3 separate regions of the Homo sapiens genome follow, and all the other regions are linked to region 1. The links are contacts of gene promoters, found by promoter capture Hi-C in blood cells and fetal thymus (Javierre and others, 2016). All regions are on one chromosome and are shown on one strand. The core of a region is centred on a gene start or on the middle of the fragment in contact, and the rest is flanking DNA. Distances in the headings are between cores, read along the strand shown. Region 1 holds the start of PLIN3 (perilipin 3). Region 2 overlaps SAFB (scaffold attachment factor B). Region 3 has its middle 14 kb from the start of TINCR.

The links. The method cuts DNA at HindIII sites, captures the fragments that hold promoters and counts their contacts. A CHiCAGO score of 5 or more calls a contact.
Region 2: a contact is called between a fragment that was not itself captured here and the fragment with the promoter of PLIN3 in region 1, in 4 of 17 cell types (M1 macrophages, naive B cells, M0 macrophages and 1 more). The highest score is 6.4, in M1 macrophages.
Region 3: a fragment that was not itself captured here is called in contact with the fragment with the promoter of PLIN3 in region 1 in 1 of 17 cell types (naive B cells); the score reaches 6.1 in naive B cells.

The regions. Positions count from the first base shown.
Region 1 is chr19:4,865,172-4,870,125 of GRCh38, reverse strand. PLIN3 (perilipin 3) reads left to right here and starts at 2,459. Exons shown (of 8, transcript NM_005817.5): 1 at 2,459-2,517. RefSeq lists a cis regulatory region at 1-45, a silencer at 2,302-2,481 and enhancers at 2,699-3,199, 3,142-3,491. The HindIII fragment of the contact is 7,389 bases long and covers 1,142-4,954 here.
Region 2 is chr19:5,623,552-5,628,505 of GRCh38, reverse strand. SAFB (scaffold attachment factor B) reads right to left here. Exons shown (of 21, transcript NM_001201338.2): 2 at 2,017-2,101. Among named protein-coding and RNA genes, the nearest start is that of SAFB, 2.9 kb to the right of the region's middle. RefSeq lists an enhancer at 4,261-4,954. The HindIII fragment of the contact is 1,839 bases long and covers 1,888-3,726 here.
Region 3 is chr19:5,579,650-5,584,603 of GRCh38, reverse strand. No RefSeq gene overlaps it. Among named protein-coding and RNA genes, the nearest start is that of TINCR, 14 kb to the right of the region's middle. The HindIII fragment of the contact is 3,636 bases long and covers 542-4,177 here.

The DNA of each region.
Region 1 (4,954 bases), core at 1,210-3,709:
CACTCAGAAAGGCCTCCTCTGACCTCCCTACTAAAAACTGCGGCCCCACCGGGTGTGGTGGCTCATGCCTATAACCCAGCACCTTGAGAGGCCAGGGCTGGTGGATCACATGAGGTCAGGAGTTCGAGACCAGCCTGGCCAACATGGTGAAGCCCCGTCTCTACTAAAAAAAAAAAAAATACAAAAATTGGCCAGGCATGGTGGCACAGGCCTGTAATCCCAGCCACTTGGGAGGTCGAGGAACAAGAATTTCTTGAACCTGGGAGGCGGAGGTTGCAGTGAGCCGAGATCGTGCCACTGCACTCCAGCCTGGGTGACAGAGTGAGACTCTTTGACAAAAAACAAGAACAAAATCCCCGCATCCCCCACATTCATCTCGTCCTTTGCTGTCCTACCACGTGACACATTGTAAAGTTCTCTCACTTATGTTGTTCCTTGTTCGTCTCTCCCACTGGGTAGTGTGTGTCACCAGGGCTGGAATTCTTATCTGTTTAGCTCACCGCTGTCCCCAGCGCAAGGACTCAATAAATATGGTTGAATGAGTGAATGAGAAGGAAAAAGCCTGTTACAAATGTCATGGAATGGGGTCTCAGATTCACTTGAGAATCTCACTAGCTGCCTGAAGTTACTTAAATTTAAACATTCAGGCCAAGCGCGGTAGCTCACACCTGTAATCCCAGCACTTTAGGAGGCCGAGGCAGGTGGATCACTTGAGGCCAGGAGTTCGAGACCAGCCTGGCCAATATGGTTAGTCCTCGTCTCTACTAAAAATACAAAAATTAGCTGGGTGTGGTGGCGCGCGCCTGTAATCCCAGCTACTTGGGAGGCTGAGGCAGGAGAACCGCTTGAACCCGGGAGGTGGAGGTTGTAGTGAGTCGAGATCGCGCCATTGCACTCCAGCCTGGGAGACAGAGCGAGACTCTGCCTCAAAAAAAAAAAAAAAATTTAAACATTCAGCTTCTCACTGTGCATTAGCCACGTGGTGCTTTTGGCTACAATGTTGGATGGCACACAATTCTAGAATTGCAGAAAGTTCTATTGGACAGTGCTAGCATAGACCCTGTCCCCACTCACCCCCCCAAAAAAATGCAGTCACAGACACCCAATTTTTCCCATGTTCTTTCTAAAGCTACCAGAAGCTTCATTCTATTCAAATAATTTGGCAGAGGTGGCAAACTGGTGGCCCCTGGGCTGGACAAAGCCCCAGTTGGGTTTCATTTGGTCCAATTGTTCCCTAACAGGCAGGACATGTCTACAGCTTGAACTTCCTGTGGATCTGTGACTCTCCAGGTGGGTCTCCCATAGGGCACTGCTCTCCCCTGCCCCTCTAAGCAGGGCATCACTGCCACCTCCTCAGCAGAAATATTCACCTCCTCCCTGGACCATCTGAGATTGAGACCTTGGTTTATAGACCAAGAGGATAAATAATTTGGGAGGTGGAGAGGGGCGGGGTAAAATCCAAGTGGGGGCAGCTTCAGGAAAAGGTTGATCCAGCAGTCACAGAGCCTGGAGCCTGACCCCTCCATTGCCCCTGGCTGACCCTCTCCAGGCCTCAGTTTCCTTCTCTGCAAAATAGGGATGATTAAAAAGACAATACAGTGCTGGGAGGATGAAGTGGTCTGATGTTGGGCAGATCAGGCCGGAGGCTGGACAAGTTCCCGTGGTGGTTCAAGTCACTCATATAGCTGGGTTGGGCCGGGTGCGGTGGCTCATACCTGTGATCCCAGCAATTTGGGAGGCCCAAGCGGGCAGATCACTTGAGGTCAGGAGTTCAAGACCAACATGGTGAAACCCCGTCTCTGCTAAAAATACAAAAAATTAGCCGGGCGTGGTGGCACGTGTCTGTAATCCCAGCTACTCAGGAGGCTGAGGCAGGAGAATCGCTTGAATCCAGGAGGTGGAGGCTGCAGTGAGCCAAGGTCGCGTCACTGCACTCCAGCCTTAGCGACAGAGCGAGACTGTGTCTCAAAAAAAAAAAAAAAGTGTGTGTGTGTGTGTGTGTGTGTGTGTGTACATATAGCTGAGTCGGAGCCCATGGTGGAGGGCGTGGCCCCTGACGCGCTGGCGAGGGTCACCCTGCAACTCTCCCAGGGTTCTCGCAGCCTCAGTTTGGCCATAGGGGAAATGGGCGACCTGGGGAATCCCAGCACCTGTGCGGCGCCCCCGATCGCACTCACCTCCCAGGGCCAACTTCACAGGGTCCCCAGCTGCGGAGCGGGGGTCCCGTGGCTGGGACAGGCGTGGTCCAAGAGTGCTCCCTCCCCTTCAGGGGCAGGGCGTGGAGTCCTTCCCGGACTTCATGACTTGGCGAGGGGCGGGGCCTAGTGGAGGCGGGGCAGGGAGGAGAGGGGCGGGCCTGGCGCGGGCAATCCCTCAACCTGATTGGTCCCCTCGCCCGTCACTCCAGTGCGCCCCCAACCTACCACGCAGTAAAAGCCACCCCCGCCTCGGCCCGGACGGTTTCCAAGCTGGTTTTGAAGTCGCGGCAGCTGTTCCTGGGACGTCCGGTTGACCGCGGTGAGTGGCGGGGGCGTCTCAGTTGAGCTGGGGGGCGGTGTCCATGGAGTCCTGGGGCACCCCAGGGGCCGGAGGGGTCGGGGAGGGCCTTTCTCGGGGTGGGATTTGCTGGACTCTGCGGCCTGGGGAGGGGTCTTCAGCCCAGGCTGGTCACCCCTCCCCCCAGAAAAATCCAACTTCTGCAACGAAGCTCAGACTTTGAAACCCTCTTCTCACTTCCTGGGACTTTTGAGGGGCGAAAGAGCCCCGTAGAAGGGGTGATATTGAAGGGGGTGGGCTAAATACCGCCCCCCGCCCACCAGGTTTTCTCTAAATTTTGAACAGTTTGCTTTTGGAAACGCCATTTGCAGGCAAGTTTCCTCCTGCGGGCAGAATCTCCGCCCTCCCTTCTGGGGTTTTCAGAGACACCCCCCGCCACCGCAAAGCCCCCTCCCCTACAGATGGTTTTGCCACGGGTGGGGGTGGGGGTTGCCCCAGCTCCTGGCGCCCCCAACTGATTCTGGGGAGGTCTTGGGCAAAGCCTGCCCACTTCCCTCGGGTGGGCGTGGCGACGAGGTGGCTTAAAAGTAGGAAGGCCTATCCGTTAACTGCTTTGGGGTTCTTGTCCCGGCTAGGCCTGGCAGTGGGACCTGGGGCCCTTGGAATTTTGGAAGTCCAGTCTTAGCATGCTCTGAAGTTGCTGGATGGCTGGGTCTGGCCTGGAGCTCCCCTTCTGGAGCCAGCGGCAAGGCAGGTCACTGACCCCCAGGGGTTTCATAGGGTGTTGACATCTGCCATGGCCACCCTTGCTTAAACCAGTTCCAGGAAGTCATGGTGGACAGAGGGGACGGGAGGAAGCTGCCTGAGTCCTAAGTGGGACTTGAGAATCGGTCGAGGCCAGGAGTTTGATGCCTGCCTACCTGGCCCCCTGCCCAGGTGAGCTCAGGCTCCAAAGGAGGTGAGGAGAAGCACAGATTTAGGCAATGATCACTGGGAGGTAGGTATGTCTTCTCACCTGACTTCCCAGTTGGGGGACTTTTGTACCTAGCAGGAAGCTGGTTCCTGGCTGGCTTTACCCCTTTGTCCGTGGAAGCCAGAGTGCGGTGAGATAGTTTATGGAGCACTTACTATGTGCCGGGCACGGATCTGAGCTTCCCCGGAGCAGCGTCTCCTCCAGTCCACAGGGACTCCAGGCTCTTGTGAAACACTTATACACATTTCACAGATGTGGCAAGCAAGACTCCTAGGGGATGCTGCCTTCCCAAACTCCTATTCCTAGTGAGTTGCCAAGCTGGGATTAGAACCCATTCTGGGCTGGGCAGGATGACTCACGCCTATAATCCCAGCACTTTGGGAGGCTGAGGTGGGCGGATCATTTGAGGTCAGGAGTTGGAGAACAGCCTGGCCAACATGGTGAAACCCCACCTCTACTAAAAATATAAAAATTAGCCGGACGTGGTGGCGGGCACCTGTATTCCCAGATACTCTGGAGGCTGAGGCAGGAGAATCGCTTGAACCTGGGAGATGGAGGTTACACTGAACTGAGATCACGCCACTGCATTCCAGCCTGGGCGACAGAGCAAGACTCTGTCTCAAAAAAAAAAAAAGGCCGGGCATGGTGGCTCACGCCTGTAATCCCAGCATTTTCGGAGGCCGAGGCGGGCGGATCATGAGGTCAGGAGATCGAGACGATCCTGGCTAACATGGTGAAATCCCATCTCTACTAAAAATACAAACAATTAGCCAGGCGTGGTGGCGGGCGCCTGTGGTCCCAGCTACTCGGGAGGCTGAGGCAGGAGAATGGCGTGAACCGGGGAGGCAGAGCTTGCAGTGAGCTGAGATCGCGCCACTGCACTCCAGCGTGGGCGACAGGGCGAGACTCCGTCTCAAAAAAAAAAACAAAAAAAAAAAAATGGAAAGAACCCAATCTGGACTCCAGATCTAGTGCTTGCAAAACATCATCATTTTGCTGGGTTCTGCTTAGGGGACATCGAAGCAAGGCCACCAGGAGGTGGGGCCTCATTCCTCTGGGAAAAGATGCTCAGACTCAAGGCCACAGGTTCTTAGGCTCACACCAGAATTCCCCAGGAAAGCAGCCCATAAGACAGGCATGACCTTTAGCCCCATGTTTTTTTTTTTTTGAAACGGAGTCTCCCTCTGTCACCCGGGCTGGAGTGCAGTGGTGCGATCTCGACTCACTGCAACCTCCACCTCCCAGGTTCAAGCAATTCTCCTGCCTCAGCCTCCTGTGTAGCTGGGACTACAGGTGTCAGCCAAAATACACGGCTAATTTTTGTATTTTTAGTAGAGATGGGGTTTCACCATGTTGGTCAGGCTGGTCTCAAACTCCCGACCTTAGGTGATCTGCCCGCCTCAGCCTCCCAAAGTGCTGGGATTACAGGCGTGAGCTACCATGCCTGGCTTTTTCTTTTTTCTTTGAGATGGAGTCTTCCTCTGT
Region 2 (4,954 bases), core at 1,558-4,057, 760 kb before region 1:
TTAGTGAAAGTTTTGTTTCATGCACAAAATTATAAAAAATATGGTATTAAATTATCTTCAGGTGTATAAGAAACAAATTTCTTGTTTAGATTTGGGCCCCAATCCCAAGATTATCTCATTATGCGTACGAAAATACCGCACAAAATCCAAAAAATGAAACCCTTCTGGTCCCAAGCATTTCAGATAGGGAAAACTCTACATGAACCAAGAGAACATTCGGTCTACAAGCCCAGCTTCAGCTGATTCTTTTTTTTAGGGGGATGGAGTCTTGCGGTCGCCCAGGCTGGAGTGCAGTGGTGCGATCTGGGCTCAGTGCAACCTCCACCTCCTGGGTTCAGGCAATTCTCCTGCCTCAGCCTCCTGAGTAGCTGGGATTACAGGAGCCCGCCACCACACCTGGCTAATTTTTATATTTTTAGTAGAGACGGGGTTTCATCATGTTGGCCAGGCTGGTCTCGAACTCCTGACCTCAGGTGACCAGTCCGCCTCAACCTCCCAAAGTGCTGGCATTACAGGTGTGAGCCACGGCGCCCTGCCTCAGCTGATTCTTTCTTAAGCCAATAGTTGAGTGTTACCAAGTTAAACCATTGAAGGGGAAAGAAAGATAAACAAGACACAGCCCTAGTCCTCATCAATCTGCTCTTGACAGAAGGCAAGATGACATAAATATTAAACCAAGGGGTAAGGAACTATGCCACGGGAGGACAGAGGACCCAAGGAGACGAGTTGCTATTGGTGGGATGGATCAGTTGTCTTTTGAGGAACTAGGTCTCTAAGGCAGACAGATGGGGAAGGGTGGGCGGAGCGAAGTCACAGAGAACCAGGAGAGTAAATCACGTGTTTGGGGCCTGACTAAAGCACAGGGTGTGGGGGATGGGCAAGAGAGATTTCGGTAAGATGGTGAGAGTCATGTCATGTGGAATGTGACTTTTACTGTATAAGCTGCTTTTAAAAGAAATGTTAAAGTGACAATTCTGTTTTTGCCAAGTGCTGTTTATAAGGGATGTTATTTTCTCCAAGTCCAAGCAATAGGAGGCTCAGGCAGTCCTACTTTTTGGACTCCATGTTGGAGTTCAGTGGTGCCATGATAGCTCAGTGCAACCCTGAACTCCTGGGTTCAAATGATCCTCCCGCCTTAGCCTCCCAAGTAGCTAGGAAAACAGGCGTGCCTCGACGCCTAGGTACTTTTTTTTTTTGGCAGTGGATAGAGGCAGCCCAGGCTGGTCTCAAACTCCTAGACTGAAACCATTCTCCTGCCTTGGGTTCCCAAAGTGTTGGGATTACAGGTGAGAGACACTGTGCCCCGCCCCCACCCCCCTTTTTTTTAAGAGAGACTGGGTCTTGCTCTGTCACCCAGGCTGGAGTGCAGTGGTGCAATCATTAGGTCATTGCAGGCTTGAGCTCCTGGGCTCAAGTGATCCCCCTCCTAAAACTCCCAAGTAGCTGGGATCACAGGTGCATGCCATCATGCCTGGCTAATTTCTTTTTGGTGGGGATGGGGGTCTCCCTATGTTGCCCAAGCTGATCTCAACCTCCTGGGGTCAAGTAATCCTTCCGGTTCAGCCTCCCAAGCAGCTGGGACCACAGATGCATGCCACCACACCGGGCCTTTAAAAGTTTTTTTGTAGAGCTGGGTTTTGCTATGTTGCCCAGGCTGGTCTTGAACTCCCAGGCTCATGTGATCCTCCTACCACAGCCCCGAGTCGCCTGGAATTACAGGCACACGCCACTGTGACTGACTCCCAAAAGACTCCTTATTTAAGGACCGCTGACAATCTACAGAGGAAAATGAATAAAGGACAAATACTCCTTCCATCCTCCATTGGAATTCCCAGATACCAAGAAAACAAAACACAGTAGAGAGATCTTGAAAGAAAATGCAAAGCTTCGCTGAAGGCTCCCAGTTCAGAGTGGTTCACAAGTCCAACACACAGACAAGTAAACGAGGCACATTAGCAATGTATTCGTTTTGAAGAAAGCACTTAACATGAAACTTGCTTATGAAATCCTCCATACCTTTGCTAGACCTCTTTGATGTTTTCTTGTTTCCCTCGGAGGTAATTTCAATTTCGTCAGGATTACCACCTTCATCTTCAATTGCCTAAAAAGAAGGGAAAAGTAAAGTTGATCCAAAAAGTCAGCTCACACACTGCTTTCAGAGAGCTCTCAGGTGACAAGGAAACTGTATTTTTAAGATCAAAAAGCTGCTGCCGCCCTCACCACCCAGGACCTGTGGCCCATCCACTCATCTGTTATCTCGCTCTACACTGGAGACCGACTGACGCCACCAGTTCTTAGCTGGGTGGTCCCAGGCAGGTTTACTTAGGTGCTCAGTTTTTGCTTCTTCCTCTGGAACATGCGGCTAATAATAATACAGTACTTACCCTGGAAGGCTGTTGTGAGGACTCTACTAGCCATGAAAAGGAAGCACTCAACAAACAGTAGGCTTATCTGGTTCATCTCCTTCCTAAGCCCAGAAGAACTCAAAAAGGGAAAGGCACACTCTCCATTTCCCCTGACTTTACTCACAAAATACTCTTTAACCCTCCAGGGACTCCCTCCACGCCGTGCCTGTACTCAGTACTGTGTGGACAGAATACTAATGCTCGCTGACTGGGATCCTACTATGTGTTACGCACGAGACCCGTCACGACATGCATGACCTCATCCGATCCCCATCATGTACATTCACAACCGACTCCAGTACCTCATTCTCAACCACTAGGTGATTGTGCCTCATCGGATATTGAATTATAAGAATTTCTTGGCACGCCCAGCCTCCCACCCCAGGACTCTGTCACTCACTTCAACTATGCCCATCCTCAGCACAGTGCCTGGCATCAACTAAGCCATCAGTACCGAACACGTCAATCACGATGACGTCCCTAGAAACTTAGCTTCAGGTCAAGTTTTACTGATAACTTTTCCAGTCTTTACTCTCCAGTCCCATGAGCACAAGTTTTGTTTACATCATTTCATGTACTATGTTTTATCTGCAGAGGTTTGGAAGCCTCCAAGTTTCCCAGGTGGGTAAGTCTGAATTGAGATAGGGCCTGGGGGTTCCACATCTCATCTTTACCAGCAGCAACAAAAATCTCTCCTCTCAGAAGCCAGAAAAGGGACTGAAGTTCTTTCCTGGGATCAAGGAAAAGTACAATCACCAAGTCCCTCACCCTTTTCCCGGGGACAGGCAATTCTGAAACACCACCAGGAGAAGAGAAGCAATGCCCTAGGCAGGTGTCCTGTTTCCCCTTTTTGTTCTTTTGCCCTTCCTGGAAAAATAAACCAAGAAAGGGACACCAACAGGATGACAGAAACGGGAAGAGAATGAGATCAGGAACTCCAGACTGGCTTGGGTGAGTGGCAGACAGGGATATGGGCTGGCGGTATTCGTGTTTTGGGACCACATCTTGAAGAAAATGAAAAGGAGAAGGAAGAAGGAACAAATCTGTGCTCTCAGAGATGACAGCGAGTGATGGGAAGTCTCAGTCACCAGCTTGACAGGAAGATCACAGCAGCTTTTCAGGCCTATGGACCGTCCAGGGAGAAAAAAAGGATAAAGCCTCTTAATTTGGCTTAGCTGATGGGAGGCCCTGGTGGCGGGGCACCACACCTGACCAGCCGCCAATCTCCACTCTCTGCATTTTCTCTGGGTAAATATGTAGATCAGTGGGCTTCCTGCCTTATCTGAGTAAAGAGAATCCATAGTGAAAAGAAACACAAGCTTGAGCTTTTAAAAGGCCCATGTGACTCTGGCCGAGACAACTATCCACCCTTGAGCCCAGGGTTTCTCATCAGGAAAAAAAAAAAAAAAAAAATCCCTACTTCTTCTCATCACCAATTAATAATAAAGCCCTGTGATCTCCGTAGTTCCGGAGTCAGGATGGTGGGATGTGTCAACAGCCCCACTGCCTGCAGGGGCTGGGGGGTGGGCGGCCAGGCGGAGCAACTACAGGGGAGAGGTCCCAGAGTAGCCAGGTGGAAAAAAGGCAGAGAAAAAAAGCTACAGGAATAAGGAAACCGCAGGTGGCTAACCTTTACTTGCCTCTCTGCTTTTCCTAGGGATCCCTTTGAATCCCCCAAGGGAGGCGTTAGAGCCCCCGATCTGCAAATGAGGACTCGTGGTGGCACAGAGAGGAAAAGCGAATCGTGATGGCAACCACACACCGAGTGTTTACATGCGCCAGGCAGCACGCCAAGCCTGCTCCACGCAAACTTATTTAATCCCCAAATCAAAGTCCTATTGCTTTTTTGCTTCTTACAGGAGAAAAAAAAAAAAAAAGAATAGAAAAGAGGACTCAGAAGGGGTTCAAGGTCTCCTATGCCCAAGATCAGGCCACCGAGAGCTGGCAGGGTCCCCAAGTCCAGAGAGACTGACGGAGCTGGGGGAGCCCAGGCTCTGCCCGCCTCCCGGGCAGTTCTGAGGCTGGTTTTAAAGTCCACCCGGGGTCTCCCCTCATTTCACATTTCTGATCACTACCGTCAACACCACTTTTCCTTCCTGCCACGTTACTTCACCGAGCGAGTACCGGCAAACCGTGAAAACTGGATTGTGGTGGGTTTTTTTCTATTTTTCCCTTTGAGTATGTCCTACGGGTGTTTCCTTTGTAAATCAGCCCCGATTCAGGCTGGTCGGTCCCCTGTGGGTCACAAAGCATCTTCCCTGGGGAAACCAAGCAGCCGAATCAGGAATCCCAGGGCCTGGGTTCAAATCCCGACGCTGCCCGTCCTCGGCCGTGTGACCTTGGCCGAGTCCCTTCCCCTCGCCTGGGAAGTGAGGGTTTCAGGGTCTCCCCTCCAGGTACGGAGGAGGGGACGAGACGAGGGGAGAACCCTCCTCTCAGTGGACGATGTCACCCGTCACCGTTTCTCCTGCACGCGTGCCGTTTTTGTGGTTCTCCTGGCCCCATTGCGGCGTTAGGATTTGAACCCAGGCCCAGCCGGCCAAGGAACT
Region 3 (4,954 bases), core at 1,110-3,609, 710 kb before region 1:
TTTCTGGAAGTATAGCCAGACTTTTCCACAGTGGTGGTACCATTATACATTCCTACTAGCACTATATGAAGATTCCAATTCCCCTTTTTTACGAGACAGGGTCTCGCTGTGTCTCCCAGGCTGGAATGCAGTGGCGCGATCATAGCTCACTGCAGCCTCGAACTCCAGAGCTCAAGCCATCCTCCCACCTTGGCCTCCCAAGTTGCTAGGTCTACAGGCATGAGCCACCATGCCTGGCCTTGGTATACCATTTGGTGGTGAATTTTGTTATGTATCATTTCCCATCGTTTTAAAGACATTTTTAAAGGGGAGGGGGAGCTGTGGGGGCATCACGGGAATGAGAGCCACTGGGGCAGAAACAGGGAGCTTCTTGAGAGCAAGTTTAGGAGCCAACTGCCTGGCACCCAGCCTTCTCACTACCTGCCTGCCCACGGGCAGGTCATTACTGTCTGCTTTAGCTGCTTTAACTGGAAGGAGGGAGTAATCATTGTAGTTGCCATATGGGATCTTTACAAAGATTAGTTAATCCACATAAAAAGCTTGGCATACAGTAAATGCTTAATACATGTTGGCAGGCCCTGGGGAGCCCTACAGGAATAGAGCCTCGGGTGCTCATGTTTCACAGGGGCCCTGGCGAAATGCAATGCCAGAGGTCTGGAGGGGGTCCCGGTGAGGAAATGACCAGCTCCAGCCATACAGAAAGAAAACAGCAGAATCAGAATTAAGACCTTATGGCCTGGCGCGGTGGCTCATGCCTCGAATCCCAGCACTTCTGGAGGCTGAGGCGGGTAGGTCACCTGTGGTCAGGAGTTCGAGACCAGCCTGGCCAACATGGGGAAACCCCCATTTCTACTAAAAATACAAATATTAGCCAGGCATGGTGGTGGGTGCCTGTAATCCCAGCTACTCGAGAGGCTGAGGCAGGAGACTTCTTGAACCCTGGGGGGCGGAGGTTGCAGTGAGCCGAGATCGCGCCACTTCACTCTAGTCCCGGGTGAAAGAGCGAAACTCCATCTCAAAAAAAAAAAAAAAAGAAAGAAAAAGTAGAATTAAGACCTTACGAAATGTCTCCACAGCTACAAAATGTGTCAACTTCACCAATTGCTAAATTTTGTATTCATAAAGATTTCATTACATTTCAAAACAGCTCCTAGGTTAGATTTTCTTATTCCCAAGGAACTCCCAAGCCTCCACGATGATTGCCAGTCTCAAATTGCATGCATGACTCCTAGTCACATAATTTCAAAGGCAAAGTTAGAACAGGGCCTTTTGATTCCAAAAAAACCCAACAACCATAAAGTCGACGTTTAACGGGGATGCCGTGCCTTTTAACAGGTTTGCCGGATTGAGGGGCAGGGCTTCCTTGAGTCCCAGTGACCCACGGGAGAGGTGAGGCTGTTCCTACCTGGTCATACGATGGTGACAAATCAGGGTTCGGATTCTGCTCTCACTGCTGGGTGGGTTCAGACCTCAGCCCTTCAGCCATTTCTTTGGTCAGCTGGGTGGACTAGGAGAGCTTTTCTCTTTGTTTTTTGAGATGAAGCCGTGCCGTGTTGCCCAGGCTGGAGTGCAGTGGCACAATCTTGGCTCACTGCAACCTCCGCTTCCCGGGTTCAAGCGATTCTCCTGCTTCAGCCTCCCAAGTAGCTGGGATTACAGGTACCTGCCACCATGCCTGGCTAGTTTTTGTATTTTTAGTAGAGATGGGGTTTCCCCATGTTGGCCAAGCTGGTCTCAAACTCGTGGCCTCGGGTGATTCTCCTGCCTTGGCTTCCCAAAGTGCTGGGATGACAGGCATGAGCCACCACACCCAGCCACGAATTCCTTCACCTTAATCACATCTGCAAGGTCCCTTTGTCTTGGAGACCAATGTGTTCATAGGTCCCAGGGATTAGGACGTGGGCATCCTTGTCCGTCACCCTGGTGTACAACAGAATCCACTTTGGGAAGCACCTGATGTGCTTACCAGTCAAGCAAGTTAGACATCTCTAGTCCCCCTGGCCAGCCACCAATTTATATGAGGACACCTACGGACGCCACACAACATCACCAAACCCAGACATAGCCCAGTGCAGCTCCCTGGGAAACTGGAGTCAATTCCTGGGAAAGTCAAGCGCAGAAGAAGGTTCTGAGCCCGAGGGAGGCTGAGACCCGCCCAGAGGTAGCGAGCCATGGAGCTGAGGCTGCAGCCCGAGGTCCCTTCTCCTCAGCCTCCCCGGTTGTCAGGGCACCCCGTGCCGCGGTCACACGGTGGTGAAGGGATAGGTGTTTGGGGCACCAGTGAGCAAGCTGCGTACGTGAGTGTGTACATAATTTTGCACATGCGCTTGGCCTTTAGAGTTGACCCCAAGGATAACTCTACATGTCCTACAGTGCTTCCAGAGACAGCAATACTGGGCCAGAAACTGCCCCTAAATTACTCCCGGGAGCACCAAGAGCCGCTTCTCCGTACTCCTCAAATCCTCGTGAGATGCAGCTGCCCTGTGTTTGCCTCCACCTGCAAATATTGACACAGCAGCTGCCGGGTTCAGTGGAGCATAAGGTACTGAGGACCCGAGACATTGCCCTCCTGGGAGAGCTTCCTGGGTGGTCTGTGAACCAGGGCCCGGTGGCTCATGCCTGTAATCCCAGCACTTTGGGAGGCTGAGGTGGGAGGATCACTGGAGCCCAGGAGTTTGAGAGCAGTGTGGGTAATGTAGCAAGACCCCATCTGTACAAAAAAATAAAATTGGCTGGGCTGCTGGTGTACACCTGTAGTCCCAGCTACCCACGAGGCTGAGGAGGGAGGATCACTTGGGCTCAGGAGGCAGAGGCTGCAGTGAGCTGTGATCACACCACTGCACTCCAGCCTGGGCGACAGGGCTGTCTCAAAAAAGAACAGCGTGGCACTGGCTGTGACTGAGGAGACCAGCCACACATGCCCAGCCCCTTCAAATTCTGCCCCCTGCAAGAGGTCTCCTCTGACCACTGGATCAGCAGCGCCTCATCACCCTCTGCCTTGTCACACCTGCCTGTCCTCGTGGCTCTGACCACTCGCTAAAGCATTGTTTATTGTCGGCACTCTCCACCACATAAGCATCGTTGGGGCAGGCATCTGCATCTCCCCAGTGCACAGCCTTTTAAAATACAGGTTTTGGCCGGGCGCGGTGGCTCATGCCTGTAATCCCAGCACTTTGGGAGGGTGAGGCGGGTGGATCACCTGAGCTCAGGAGTTTGAGACCAGCCTGGCCAACATGGTGAAACCCCGTCTGTACTAAAAACACAAAAATTAGCCGGGTGTGGTGGTAGGCACCTGTAGTCCCAGCTACTCAGGAGACTGAGACAGGAGAATCGCCTGAACACAGAGATGGAGGGTGCAGTGAGCTGAGGTCGCACCACTGCACTCCAGCCTGTGTGACAGAGCGAGACTCCATAAAAAAAAAAAAAAAAAGCAGGTTTTGGCCGGGCACGGTAGCTCACGCCAGTAGTCCCCGCACTTTGGGAGGGTGAGGTGGGCAGATCACCTGAGGTCAGGAGTTCGAGACCAGCCTGGCCAACATGGTGAAACCCCATCTCTACTAAAAATATGAAAATTAGCTGGGCATGGTGGCGCATGCCTGTAATCCCAGCTACTAAGGAGGCTGAGGCAGGAGAATCGCTTGAACCTGGGAGGCGGAGGTTGCAGTGAGTCAAGATCGCACCACTGCACTCCAGCCTGGGAGACAGAATGAGACTCCATCTCAAAAAAATAAAAAAGTGCTTTATGCAATATCTGGCATACAGTAGGTGCATAGCAAGTGGTTGTGGTTCTTTGAATTTTTTTAGCAAGAGACAGGTCTAAACCAGGGCTTCCCACTCCTTGCCCAACAGAAATCCCTCCCCTCTGCCCTTTAAGAAATTAAGTGTGGCCCATAGACTTAGGGAAGGGGAATCGCTGGGCTCGATTTCTACTGCAGCTGTAATCTATAATGTTGCATTACAGTTTTTAAAACAAGAGGCCCCTCTTTGGCCTCTCAAATGCTGCACGCTGTGGAGTTAAGTGCTGGAAGCCACTGATGGTGTCTCTCGGCTTCTTCCAGTCTTGGAATCATAGCCACCTCGTGCCAACGAGCTGTGAAACTACTGGGGTGCCCCGTGTACCCAGCCACAGAAAACGCATATCAGGCCTCGCGGGGAGCTCGTAAAAGGCACTGAAGCTTCCCCTGCGTGTATGCTGCCGGCCACAGCAGACCAAATATTTACAGACTCAGCTGAAATGAAACCCAGCAGGGTGGATCTCACAGGTGGTCCGGGAAAGGTCCCCATTGCTGGGGAAACAGTGCACAGAGCAGGAAGGAAACCCACTTGGCCAAGGCCCCCTGCCAAGCAAGTCAAGATGAAATCCAGGCTCAAGAGCTGGGCTCTGAGTCCTTTGTTTTCTTGCTTATTTAGCTTAGCAAATGCTTCTTGGGTACTTACTGCGAGCAGGGCTCCATGGCAGAGATGCAGCCATGACTGAGACAAGCCTGCAGGTTCCTGTTGTCTGGGGGTGGAATGAGACTGGCTTCTTGGAGGAGGGGACTGGACAGACCTAAGCCATGAGGAGTGAAGGAGCCCCAGAAGGGCTTTCCAGAAGAAGAAACAGGGTGTGCAGAAGCCCCCAGGAAGGAAAGGACACGCCTCCCACCCTTTTTTTTGTTTTTCGGAGCGATGGGATCTTGCTCTGTTGCCCAGGCTGGAGTACAACGGCGCGATCATAGCTCACTGCAACCTTGAGCTCCTGGAAGTAATCCTCATGCCCCAGCCTCCTGAGCAGCTGGGACTCCAGGCATGAGCCATGCACCTGGCCTAGCACCTTTGAGCAACAGAGCAGGCAGGAACATGGGGACCTGGGGCCGCAGTGGCTGATCAGGGATGGGACCACCAGCCTGTAGGGTTTCTTCTTCTTGAGAAGAAGAGAGCCAGCCCTCCTCGAAGGGTTTGAGGGTAACACTCA